Regions from separate parts of the Homo sapiens genome. Here regions 1 and 3 are each linked to region 2. Evidence: promoter capture Hi-C in 16 types of primary human blood cells and fetal thymus (Javierre and others, 2016). All regions are on one chromosome and are shown on one strand. The core of a region is centred on a gene start or on the middle of the fragment in contact, and the rest is flanking DNA. Distances in the headings are between cores, read along the strand shown.

The links. Contacts are between HindIII fragments. The CHiCAGO score rates a contact against its expected background, and 5 or more counts as called.
Region 1: the fragment with the promoter of HNF1A-AS1 here is called in contact with the fragment with the promoter of POP5 in region 2 in 6 of 17 cell types (M0 macrophages, total B cells, naive B cells and 3 more); the score reaches 10.8 in M0 macrophages.
Region 3: a fragment that was not itself captured here is called in contact with the fragment with the promoter of POP5 in region 2 in 4 of 17 cell types (total B cells, naive CD4 T cells, naive B cells and 1 more); the score reaches 9.4 in total B cells.

Annotation. Positions count from the first base shown.
Region 1 is chr12:120,969,969-120,973,956 of GRCh38, reverse strand. It overlaps HNF1A-AS1 (HNF1A antisense RNA 1), which reads left to right and starts at 1,665. Exons shown (of 1, transcript NR_024345.1): 1 at 1,665-3,988. RefSeq lists an enhancer at 545-1,072. The HindIII fragment of the contact is 11,110 bases long and covers 1-3,988 here.
Region 2 is chr12:120,579,501-120,583,754 of GRCh38, reverse strand. It overlaps POP5 (POP5 ribonuclease P/MRP subunit), which reads left to right and starts at 2,353. Exons shown (of 5, transcript NM_015918.4): 1 at 2,353-2,412; 2 at 2,498-2,640; 3 at 3,832-3,981; 4 at 4,158-4,241. The coding sequence starts at 2,393. The HindIII fragment of the contact is 2,825 bases long and covers 2,327-4,254 here.
Region 3 is chr12:121,062,883-121,066,998 of GRCh38, reverse strand. The region is part of intron 3 of LOC105378258 (a long non-coding RNA gene); the gene reads left to right. Among named protein-coding and RNA genes, the nearest start is that of OASL, 26 kb to the right of the region's middle. The HindIII fragment of the contact is 6,035 bases long and covers 1-4,116 here.

The DNA.
Region 1 (3,988 bases), core at 416-2,915, 390 kb before region 2:
CCCTTCTGCAGGGGAGGAAAGAGAGGCTCAGAGAGGTTAAATGACTGCTCAGAGTCCCTCAGAGCTGGGCTTTAAGTCCACCTGAGGCAGGCGGACGGGCTGTGCAGGACAAGTTGGCAGCCCCCGCCTTAAGGAGAGTGGTACCCTCTTTCCTCCAGTGCATTTATGTTTTATTTTTATTTTTGAGACAGAGCCTCACTTTGTCACCCAGGCTGGAGTACAGTGGTGCGATCTCAGCTCACTGTAACCTCTGCCTCCTGGGTTCGAGCAATCCTCCTACCTTAGCCTCCTGAGTAGCTGGGACTACAGGCACACACCACCATGCCTGGCTAATTTTTGTATTTTTGGTAGAGACAGGGTTTCACCATGTTTGCCAGGCTGGTCTCAAACTCCTGGCCTCAAAAGATCCACCCACCTCGGCCTCCCAAACTGTTGGGATTATAGGCGTGAGCCACCGTGCCCGGCCAAGTGCATTTTTTTGTAAACCCCCGTGCAAGTTGCTTTGAGGTTGAGCAGCTTACTGCTGGGGACAGCATTCTCAAGTCCAGGCTAAACAGGGAAGATGCTGTGTGCTGTCCCTTTGTGGCTTTGAGGTTCTCCTGCTTATTCTCTTTGCTGCCTGCAGCTGCCTCTTGGTGACTTTCCCTTTCCAGGGAGCCAGAGGAACCAAGGAGTGTTGGCCCTGACTCCTGCCCCCAGCATGTAAACTCATTAACTGCTGGGTCCTCAGGCAGTTAGGTGGCTGAGCATTTGAGTCTGGGACGGCAGGTGGATTTGGTTGGAGAGGGAATGACAGAGATTGGGGAGGAGCCTCCAGAGTCTAAAGAGATAGGTACACAAGCAGAAAGTTCCAGCCCCCAGCCTGCCTTTCCCCCATGCTCAGGGGACAAAGCTGAATTAACTCGAGGTCAGGAATGGCATTTGCATTTGCATTCTTGAGAGTCACTGCAAATAAGAGCTGTAGTCATGGTGAGTGGTTAAGGCAATGGACTAGAGAACCACTGAGAAAAAAAGCGAACAGTGGCTGGGCGCAGTGGCTCATGCCTGTCATCCCAGCACTTTGGGAGACCGAAGTGGGTGGATCACTTGAGGTCAGGAGTTCGAGACCAGCCTGGCCAACATGGTGAAAACCCGTCTCTACTAAAAATACAAAAATTAGCCAGGCTTGTCAGTGGGCACCTATAATCCCAGCTAGTCGGAAGGCTGAGGCAGGAGAATCACTTGAACCCAGAAGGCAGAGGTTGCAGTGAGCTGAGATCATGACACTGCACTCCAGCCTGGGTGACAGAGAGAAACTCCGTCTCAAAAAAAAAAGAAAAAGAAAAAAAAAAAAAGGAACAGCCGGACATGGTAGCTCATACCTGTAATCCCAGCGCTTTGGGAGACCGAGGCAGGTGGATCACCTGAGGTCAGGAGTTCCAGATCAGCCTGGCCAACATGGTAAAACCCCATCTCTACTAAAAATACAAAAATTAGCTGGATGTGGTGGCGCACACCTGTAGTCCCAGATACTCAGGAGGCTGAGGCAGGAGAATAGCTTGAACCCGGGAGGCGGAGGTTGCAGTGAGCAGAGATCACGCCACTGCACTCCAGCCTGGGCGATAGAGTAACAATCCGTCTCAAAAAAATCTGAAAATTAAAAATTAAAAAGTGAACAGTTGTTTAGTAAGTGCAGTAGGTAGGCCAAGATAACTATTAAGTATGTCCTAACAAGGTAGCTGCTTGAAAAAAATAATGCACATAAATTAAAAAAAAAAAAACTATTTTCACTCATTCTTAACTTCTCGTATGGATGTACTAACGGGAGGCCTGTGCCTGTTGGGCTGTCCACAGCTACTCAAACCTTGAGATTAGATTGGACGCTATCTAATCTCATTTCCTGTTACACAATAACTTCTGCATGGCACTTGCTTTTAATCATGACAACTGCCATACACTCAGCTTTACAAAATCATGTCATTGTGGAAAGGAAGTTCCCTCCATCTAACATTCAAATTTAACTATCCTGAGCTGGTAGTTTGCAAGGTGTCCAACAGATGTCACTGTGTTTCCTTCGCAAATTCTCTAAAATAGTCTGCTGTGTCCCGGGGCATAGTAGATATTCAAGAAATGGTGGCTATGAGTTTTATCACAATTCTCTCCTACTGGGTGAGCAGCTGTTTGCAAGACTAAAATTCGGGCGAGGCACAGGCTTCCCCTTGGTCTTAGCAGCTAGCACAAGACGAGTGTCCCTTCAGCCAGTCTCAGAGCTCTTTGGCAATTCAACTGACCCTTGTCCTTCAGTCCAGACAATGCCCCAGGGCCCACCTGCATTCAAACTCGGACTGTTCTCCTTCCCACCCCTATTATCTTTTCAACTTTATGGACAGTACATGCAATTTTCTCATTCATTTTCTCATTTAACATCTAACAGCTTCATGATATCCCCATTTTACAGATAAGGAAACCAAGGCTTTAAGAGGATAGGGACCCTAATCGGCTAAGGCAGAATTAGGATTTGAACCCAGATCCCCATGACGCCAGAATCTAAGCCTTGACCAAATATGTGTTACTATTACTTTTGTTGTTGTTGTTGTTCTGGGTAACTCCAACCCTCTGCTCGTTGGCCTTGTCACCTCAGTGCTGATTTTGCAGATGAAGAGACTAAGGTTCCGAGGTGCTAGAGCACAGTGGTTAGGAACACACACTCTAGAGCCAGAGTGCCTGGGTTTGAGCCTCGTTCTGCCGTTTACTAGCCGTATGGCCTTGGGCAACTTGCTTAACTTCTCTTTGCCTCAGTTCCTCTTCTCTTGGGTTGTTAGGAGAATGAATGAGGTGATATCCACAGTGTCCAACACCCTGCAAGCGGCCAGGTGTGGTGGATCACACCTGCAATCCCAGCACTTTGGGAGGCCGAGGCAGGTGGATCATTTGAGGTCAGGAGTTCGAGACCAGTCTGGCCAACATGGCGAAACCTCATTTCTACTAAAAATACAAAAATTAGCCGGGCGTGGTGGCAAACAACTGTAATCCGAGCTACTAGGGAGGCTGAGGCAGAAGAATCGCTTGAACCCAGGAGACAGAGGTTGCAGTGAGCCAAGATTGCACCACTGCACTCCAGCCTGGGCGACAGAGTGAGACCCTGCCTCAAAAACTAAAAATAAAAAATGAACAGTGTCCAACACCTTGAAAGCATTCCGCATGACTGAACGATCACTGTTACGTGATTACCAACATGACGACCCCACTTCTCTTGGCCAAACTGAGTTCTCTTCTCTTGTAAAAACTTCTGCATATGAAGTCACCCATTCCATTTGACTCTTTAGCCCTCATCCTGGCATTCAAGGGCATGGACGACTCAACCCCACTCTCTAGCCAGCCTGACCTCTCCATTCCCTTCTCTGGCGTAGAGGCCACTCCCACCACCTGCCCTTACCCCCTGCCCACTTTTGTCAGCCTGTACTGTGTTGAAGCTCCCAGGAGAGACAACTGCAGTCATCACTTTCCACTGTGTTCAGTGATGTCAGTTCGGCCCAGCTGGAGGTACTCACATCATGGAAACAGACCATCAGATTTGGTGTGTGTGTGTTTTATTTTGCTTTTTCAGAGAGCCAGCTGTTAAACACTAGCCAACACCCCATTGATGCTGTTCCTTCTACCTGAAACACCTCGCATTGCCGGTGAGCTCTAAAGACAAAAGGACCTGGGTCTGCATTTCCCAAAGGCAAGACTCTGGTATCACCTGCATATTATTTTCCCATATTTGAGCACCACTGCCTTTTGCATTATTTACTTAGCAGTTTTGCTCCTGTCAACTCACTTTTTTAAAACTAAACTTATTTTAAAAAGAAAAGTTTTGGCCGGGAGCGGTGGCTCATGCCTGTAATCCCAGCACTTTGGGAGGCCGAGGTGGGCAGATCACCTGAGGTCGGGAGTTCGAGACCAGCCTGACCAACATGGAGAAACTCCGTCTCTACTAAAAATACAAAATTAGCTGGGCGTGGTGGCG
Region 2 (4,254 bases), core at 1,104-3,603:
TTCTGATCCTGCTCCTAACTGGATACGAGGCTTTGGTCTGAGCCCCAACTGCATCTATAAAATGGGCGAAGCATTGCTGTTGAAATGAAGGCTGGGAGGAGTGAAATTTCTATGAGGGGTGGAGCGCTCAGGAGTTGGGGGTGTCTTGCTCTCTCCGCGCACTGCGGACCTCTGGCGCCCCCTGTTGGCCAAAGGAGGATGTCGCAGACACTTTCTGGTGAAAAGTTGTTCTTGGGTGGGGAGTGCCGTCACTGTCACTGGTCCCTTGGCAGGGCCACGGCGTTCCCTCTTCCTATTCTTTTCTTCCCTACCTTCCCCCACATCCCTCCTTTAAGGTGGCCAAGAAGAGTGGGAGATGGGAAAATTCAGAACTCATTCCAGATCTTGCAAAAATAGGTTGTGAAAGCTGCCCCCATTACGGACCTCACAGGACCAGCCAAGGCCAAGACACTTCTACAAATAATCAGGGATGGGCATAAAGACTAAGCTACAAAGCCATGCATCAAAGTATTGGGTATAACAAGAAAATCTAGAAATAATGTAAACGTCTACCAAAGGGATACTGACCAACTTCACAATGGTACGTCCAAACAATGCAATACTGCACAGCTAAAAAACAGTATTGTCGCTGAAGAGCTGACATGAAAATATAGCCAAATGGCCAGGCGTGGTAGCTCACGCCTGTAATCCCAGCACTTTGGGAGGCCGAGGTGGGTGGATCACCTGAGGTCAGGAGTTCAAGACCAGCCTGGCCAACATGGGGAAACCCTGTCCCTACTAAAAATACAAAAATTAGCCAGTTGTGGTGGCACACACCTGTAGTCCCAGCTACTTGGGAGGCTGAGGCAGGAGAATCGCCTGAATCCAGGAGGCAGAGGTTGCAGTGAGCTGAGATCGTGCTCCAGCTTGGGCAACAGAGTGAGACTCCGTCTCAAAAAACTAAATAAATAAATACAAAAATTAGCTGGTCGTGGTGGCAGGTGCCTGTAATCCCAGCTACTCGGGAGGCTGAGGCAGGAGAATCGCTTGAACTCAGGAGGCAGAGGTTGCAGCCAGCCTCCTGGCTGCATTTATATAAAGTTTAAGAACAGGCAAAATTAATCTAGCAGGGTAGAAGTGGTAATAGTGGCTGATAGCAGTAAGCAATTTGACTGGAAGAGGGCTCAGGGAACCTTCTGGGATACTGGAAATGCTCTTTATTTTAATCTTGGAGGTGGTTATAGAAGTCTATCCATATGTAAAAATTCATTGAGATGAATACACTTAAGAATATGTACTTTATGTAATACCCCATAAGACATTTTTTTTAAAATACTTAAAAATAAAAGAAAAAACATAATTTAACAGAGGGCATAGTTCTCAAGCTGTTTTCTCTGTCTCAGGACCCCTTTACACACGTTACTGAGGGTGCCCAAGAGCTTTTAGTTTTGTGGGTTATATTTACTATGGACATTAAAGTTGAGAAACGTTTAAAAAACAATACACAATTCCTAGAGCAGTGACGTCATCACGTCAAGCAGCCTCTGGAAAACTTGACTGTTCACTCAGAGAGAATGAAAAAGACAAGTAACATCTTAGCATTATTATGAAAGTAATTTTGACTTCGGGGACTCCCAAATCGAGTGAATTTAGGAAATCTCAGTGGTCCCCAGACGGCACTTTGAGAACCACTGGCGCAGGGAGAAAATGACAGAAGAAAACACACTACACGACAACAGTTATTCTCTCTCAGTGCTGGGATTATAATTTATTTGCTTCTTTGTGCTTTTCTGTCAAAAAAAAAAGGTAAACGGAAATGGAAAATACAATGACCACGTATTGTTTCTGCGAGCAAAAAACGAGACGGCACACTCGCCTCCCTAAGATTGCTGAAAGGCCCAAACAGCAATAGCATATTTAGCTGTATGGAAGAATTAAACTGAGCTCAAACCTGAAAATAAAAGTCCGATTTCCCGTTTGTCAATGCCTGGGCTGTGAGGTGCAGGGTCTTGCCCTCAAAAGCTCCACCGTTCACCTTGGGGAGAGAATATACTCGCATACATAACTGTGGTGCAAGGTTCCCAGGGCCCCAAGGGTAGCGGCTACATCCTACACACTATTGTAAACTTCAGTGTGCAACAGAACCATCCATTACAGCTGCAAGGCGCTCCATCCCGGGGTTCAGCCCTCAAACTAGTCAGTGACCCTCCGCAGGACGCATGCGCGCTTACAAACGCAGTTGGGCGGGGCTTGAGAGAGCTGACAGACTTCGGCCTCTCAACTTTCTAGCTCCGCCCTAATATCCTGTCTCCTTCTCTGAATGGCTGAAAGGCTGCGGAAGCAAGCTTCCCATTGGCAGCGGACAGAATTCACATCCGGTTTGCACGCCGGACCGGAGAGCGCGGAGGCAGCCATGGTGCGGTTCAAGCACAGGTAAGCATTCCCTTCCAGACCCTCCCAGTGCCTTGCTGGGTCCTCGCGGCCCCGCTAGTGTCCACCTTCCTCTCGCCTGCCGCAGGTACCTGCTCTGCGAACTGGTGTCTGACGACCCCCGCTGCCGCCTAAGCCTCGATGACCGAGTTCTGAGCAGCCTCGTACGGGACACGATCGCCAGGGTGCACGGAACTTTCGGCGCAGCCGCCTGCTCCATCGGCTTCGCGGGTGCAAGGGCGCTGGGGGAAGAGGGGAACCCGGGAGGATGGCGGGATGTGGAGGGGGCAGGCGCCGGAGGAAGAAAGAAGGGGCACGAGTGGCCAAGCCCGTGCACCGTTTTTTGTAAGGTATCTCTTTAAGCGCCTGGGACCCCAAGCGAGAGTCCGAAATTAGCAGAGCGCTAAAAGGAGGGGCCCGAAGGCAGTGGGGCTTTGAGCTAGAAGCCTCTTTTTACCTGCTTGACAGGTAATTTCTGTAATTGGTTGTGATTGAATTTGATAGGGTAGAGAATTAAATGAGGGAAGCTGTGTATACTTCCTAGTAAGAGCTATTATATGACCGATTACATTAACATCATATGGAAAAAAATTGTCAAAAGTACTCCGGGAAAGCCCTTAAATAGTTGGTAAAGTACAGAACACATGATTGTCAATATATGTAAATACAGGATGAGCTAGGACAGAGGGGCCCTTCTTTCACACCACTTAAATTAGTTCCCACTTTAACCTTGTTTGAGATTGACTTCTGGAGAGTTAAATGCAGATAGACTTAACTCTCCTAAGTCAGGTGAGACTGAGAGCTGACTGCTACAATAATTACGGAGCCCAAATGCAGTAAAACAGCCTGTTTTTCAGGCAAGGGTTTTGTGGGGGTTTTTCCTAAATTAAAACGGATCGCCTCCTACCTGCTCCTATTTATTGAATTAACTAGTGAATTAGAAAGCATTTTCAATTCTAAATTCATTCACCAGTTCTGAGTGGTGTGCAACACAGTGGGTGTTTTGGCTTTTCTCTTTTACTCGCTGATAGATCTACGTGCCACTTGCCTACAACATACTTTTGGCACATAGTAGGCTCTGTTACTCCAAAGTTTTCCTTTTTTCGAGACAGTCTGGCTGTTGCCCAGGCTGCTGGAGTGCAGCAGCGAGATCGGGGGTCATTGCTGCCTCTGCCTCCTGGGTTCAGGCGATTCTCATGCCTCAGCCTCCTGAGTGGCTGGAATTACAGGTGCGCACCACCACACCCAGCTAATTTTTGTATTTTTAGTAGAGACGGGGTTTCATCATGTTGGCCAGGCTGGCCTCGAACTCCTGACTTAAAGTGATCTGCCCGCCTCAGCCTCCCAAAGTGCTGGGATTACAGGCGTGAGCCACCACACAGAGCAAAAGTTTTCCAAAATGATTTTTCTTTCCTGTTGTAGTTCGATATCTCAATGCCTATACTGGAATAGTGCTACTTCGATGCAGAAAAGAATTCTATCAGCTTGTGTGGTCAGCTCTTCCCTTCATCACATACTTGGAGAACAAAGGACACCGTTACCCATGCTTTTTCAACACATTACATGTGGGAGGTAGGAGTGAGGTGGTATGGCTACTGATTTTCAATTGGTGACACGTTCACAGTTCAGTCTAAACTGGTGGGTGGGTCTTGCTGCTGTCCCGCTAACAAGACACTTCCCCCTACCTCTGAAAGTCTGTAAGGTCGAGATCTTTCACAAGCTGTTGACCACAGTAACTCATATGCCAGGTACAATAAGAACATGTCAGAAGTTCCTAATTCAGTACAACAGGAGACAGCTGTTGATCTTGTTGCAGAACTGCACTGATGAAGGTAAGCAACACTA
Region 3 (4,116 bases), core at 980-3,479, 480 kb before region 2:
ACCTCGGCCTCCCAAAGTGCTGGGATTATAGGCGTCAGCCACCGCGCCCAACCAGTACCTATTTTCTTTGAAACATAACAACTCTCTCATCTTCATCCTAAAATGTTCAAAGCATATTAAAGGGCAAAAACCACAGTATGAAGAGACAGAGCATGCATCAGAGCCAGACTGCAATATACAGAGATTTGATGATTATCAGACTGATAACTATGATTAATATGCTAAAGGCTCTAATGGAAAAAGTGGATGAGATTCAAGAACCAATGGGATGTAAGTAGAGAAGTGAAAACTCTAAGAATCAAAAGGGAATGCTAGAAATAAAAAATGCCGTAACAGAAACGGAGAAGGCCTTTGATGGACCCGTCAGTGGACTGCACGTGGTTGATGAAGAAATCCGTGAACCTGAGAAAATGTCAATAGAACTTCCCAAACTGAAAAGCAAGAGAAAAAAAGACTGAGGAAAACAGAAAAAAATATCAAAAAATGGCGGGACAATTACAAAAGGTATAACATCTTCGTAAAGGGAATTCTAAAAGGAGAAAAATGAAAGAAGCAGAAGAAATATTTTAACTAATAATGGCTGATAACTCACCAAAATTATTGACAGACACCAAGCCATAGATCCAGGAATCTCAGAACACCAAACAGGATAAATACAAAGAAGTCAATATCTCATCATATCATATTCAAATTTTGTAAAATCAAAGATAAAAACTTTGAAAGAAGCCGGGCACAGTGGCTCAGGCCTGTAATCTCAGCGCTTTGGGAGGCCAAGGTGGGCTGATCACTTGAAGTCAGGAGTTCGAGACCAGCCTGGCCAACATGGTGAAACAGTCTCTACTAAAAATACAAAAATTAGCTGGGCGAGGTGATGGGTGCCTGTAGTCCCAGCTACTCAGGAGGCTGAAGCAGGAGAATTGCTTAAACCCAGGAGACAGAGCTTGCAGTGAGCCAAGATCACGCCACTGCACTCCAGCCTGGGCAACAGAGCAAGACTCCATCTCGAAAAAAAAAAGAAAAAGAAAAAAAAAAAACTTTGAAAGAAGCCAAAGGAAAATATACATACTACTCATAGAGGCACTAGTATAAGAATTACACTGGGCAGGGTGCAGTGGTTCACACTTATAATCCCAGCACTTTGGAGGCCAAGGCAGTAGGACTGCTTGAGCTCAGGAGTTTGAGACCAGCCTGGGCAACATAGAGAAACCCCATCTCTACAAAAAATATGAAATATTAGCAAGGCTTGCCAGTGTTTGCCTGTGGTTCCAGCTACTCGGGAGGCTGAGGCAGAAGGCTCACTTGAGCCTGGGAGGTTGAGGCTACAGTAAGTCAAGATTAAGGCACTGTGCTCCAGCTTGGGCACCAGAGTGAAACCCTGTCTCAGGGGAAAAAAAAAAAAAAAGAATTACGTTGAACTTCTTGTCAGGAACCACATAAGAAGGAAGAGAGTGGAGTAAAATACCTAGTGTTGAAAGAAAAAGCCCCCACACCTAGAATTCTGTACCTATCAAAATTATCCTTCAAAAGTGAAAGAGAAATAAAGAACTTTCAGGTAAGCAAAAAATGGTGGGGCATTTTGGAAGAATATAGATTTCCATTTCATAAATGCAGAAAGAATGAGGGAAATGGAGAATTGCATTGAGGCAAAATTCATCAGTAATTTATAGCCAGTAGATCTATCTTGTAAGAAATGTTATTTAAAAAAAAAAACCAAAAAAAAAAAAACTTGTTCAGAGACAAGGAAAATAGGTCAGAAACAACATCACTTTTGAGCTGAAATTTTTATTCACTATTTTATGTCATTTTTCTTTAAAGGGATCTAGAAAATTTTAGAAGCTCCACAAACCCTGGATAGGCTTTTGCAGCCAGCCATGAGCTTATCCCGCCCCTCTCACTCCACCTTATCCACCCACATTTCCAAAAACCCAGTCTTATTTTGTGACCCAGAGTCACAAGCTCCCCAAACGTGCTCAATACGTATGCTCCCAACAAATGGCAAAATCTTATTTTTACCATTAACGAAAAGAAGAAGAAAATCATTCTGGCGTTTTGTTGATGATGGTTGAGATGAGGGCAACTTCGAACTTAGAACCCTGAGTGGAACCGCTTTTTGTTCTTCCTGGGAATACCTGTTGGAAACAAGAATTAAAGAATGTGGTTACAGCCGGACGCGGTGGCTCACACCTGCAATCCCAGTACTTTGGGAGTCCGAGGCAGGCGGATCACCTGAGGTCAGGAGTTCAAGACCAGCCTGGTCAACATGGCGAAACCCTGTCTCTACAAAAAATACAAAAATTAGCCAGGGGCGGTGGCTTGTGCCTGTAATCCCAGCTGCTCAGGAGTCTGGGGCAGGAGAATCATTTGAACCCAGGAGGCAGAGGTTGCAGTGAGCTAAGATCCCACCACCGCACTCCAGCCTGGGCAACGAGAGCGAGACTCTGTCTCAAAAAAAAAAAAAAAAAAAAAAATTAAAAAAAAAAAGAATGTGGTTATTAGAGGCAATTCAGGATTATCCAGGCTTCCCTTGAAGAAACATATGCAAGGCTCTAAAATGGGAGCCAGATGGAAGAAAAAGTTGCAGGCTTACTGGGGAGGTGGGAAACACCCGGATCCCAGTCCCACATGTGACTTGAGAGCTGAGAGGCTGATGACTAGATGCCCTGCTGCCCCAGGGCTCCCTTCTGACTGATATGAAGGCTGGAGATTTTCCCTACACTATCCCTTAGCACCCAGCATGATGCACAAAAAACAGGAATTCAATAAAAAGGTTTGAGATGTGACTCTTGTTTAGGATGTCTTTTGGTCCTCAAGAATCTTCCACAGGAGAAGCCAAGCATGGTGGCATGCACTGTAATCCCAGCTATTCAGGAGGCTGAATGAAGCAGGAAGATCCTTTGAGCCCAGGAATTTGACTCCAGCCTGGGCAACATAGCGAGACGCCCCTCCATCTCTAATAAAAATTTTGAAAAATAAAAAAAAGCATCTTCCACAGCAGAGATTCTTTTTTTTTTTTTTTTTTTTTGAGACGGAGTCTCGCTCTGTCGCCCAGGCCGGACTGCGGACTGCAGTGGCGCAATCTCGGCTCACTGCAAGCTCCGCTTCCCGGGTTCACGCCATTCTCCTGCCTCAGCCTCCCGAGTAGCTGGGACTACAGGCGCCCGCCACCGCGCCCGGCTAATTTTTTGTATTTTTAGTAGAGACGGGGTTTCACCTTGTTAACCAGGATGGTCTCGATCTCCTGACCTCATGATCCACCCGCCTCGGCCTCCCAAAGTGCTGGGATTACAGGCGTGAGCCACCGCGCCCGGCCCAGAGATTCTTTTTTTATTTTTTTGAGACAGAGTCTGACGCCCAGGCTGAAGTGCAGTGGCACGATCTTGGCTCACCGCAACCTCTGCCTCCCCAGTTCAAGCGATTCTCCTGCCTCAGCCTCCCGAGCAGCTTGGATTACAGGCGCCCACCACCACGCCTGACTAATTCTTTTGTATTTTTAGTAGAGATGGGGTTTCACCATATTGGCCAGGCTGGTCTCAAACTCCTGACCTCAAGTGATCCACCCGCCTCAACCTCCCAAAGTGCTGGGATTACAGACATGAGCCATCGTGTCCGGCCCCATAGCAGAGATTCTTAACTTGGGGTCCAGGAAGCCCCTGAAATTGCATGCAAAATATTAGCATTAACATGTTTTTTAGAGGGAGGGCCCCTTGCATTCATCATTTTCTCTGGTGCTCACAAGACTTCAAAATGTTAAGAAACACTGGGGTAAATGAAGAAGCAAGCACCTCCAGGAAGGAGGTCCCGCACCACCATGCACAGAGTGTCTGCAATGCAGAACCAGAGAGGACCTTTGGGATGGTCCACTGTGGTTGAGCCACCATACTCAAAGATGGGGACCCTTGATAGATGCCTTGACGAAGCAAGCAGAAGGTCACCAGGAAGTTCTCTGTCCTCCACCATCTATCCGTTTTATGGACTAAAAAATAGTCACAAGATTGAAGTGCTTTTGCTTCCTAGGAAACATGGTGTCATTCATTCATTTATTCAGCCAACATTAACTGAGGCCCCATTGTGTGCCAAGAAATGTGCTAGACCCTGGGACCACGTGCTTCTCACGCT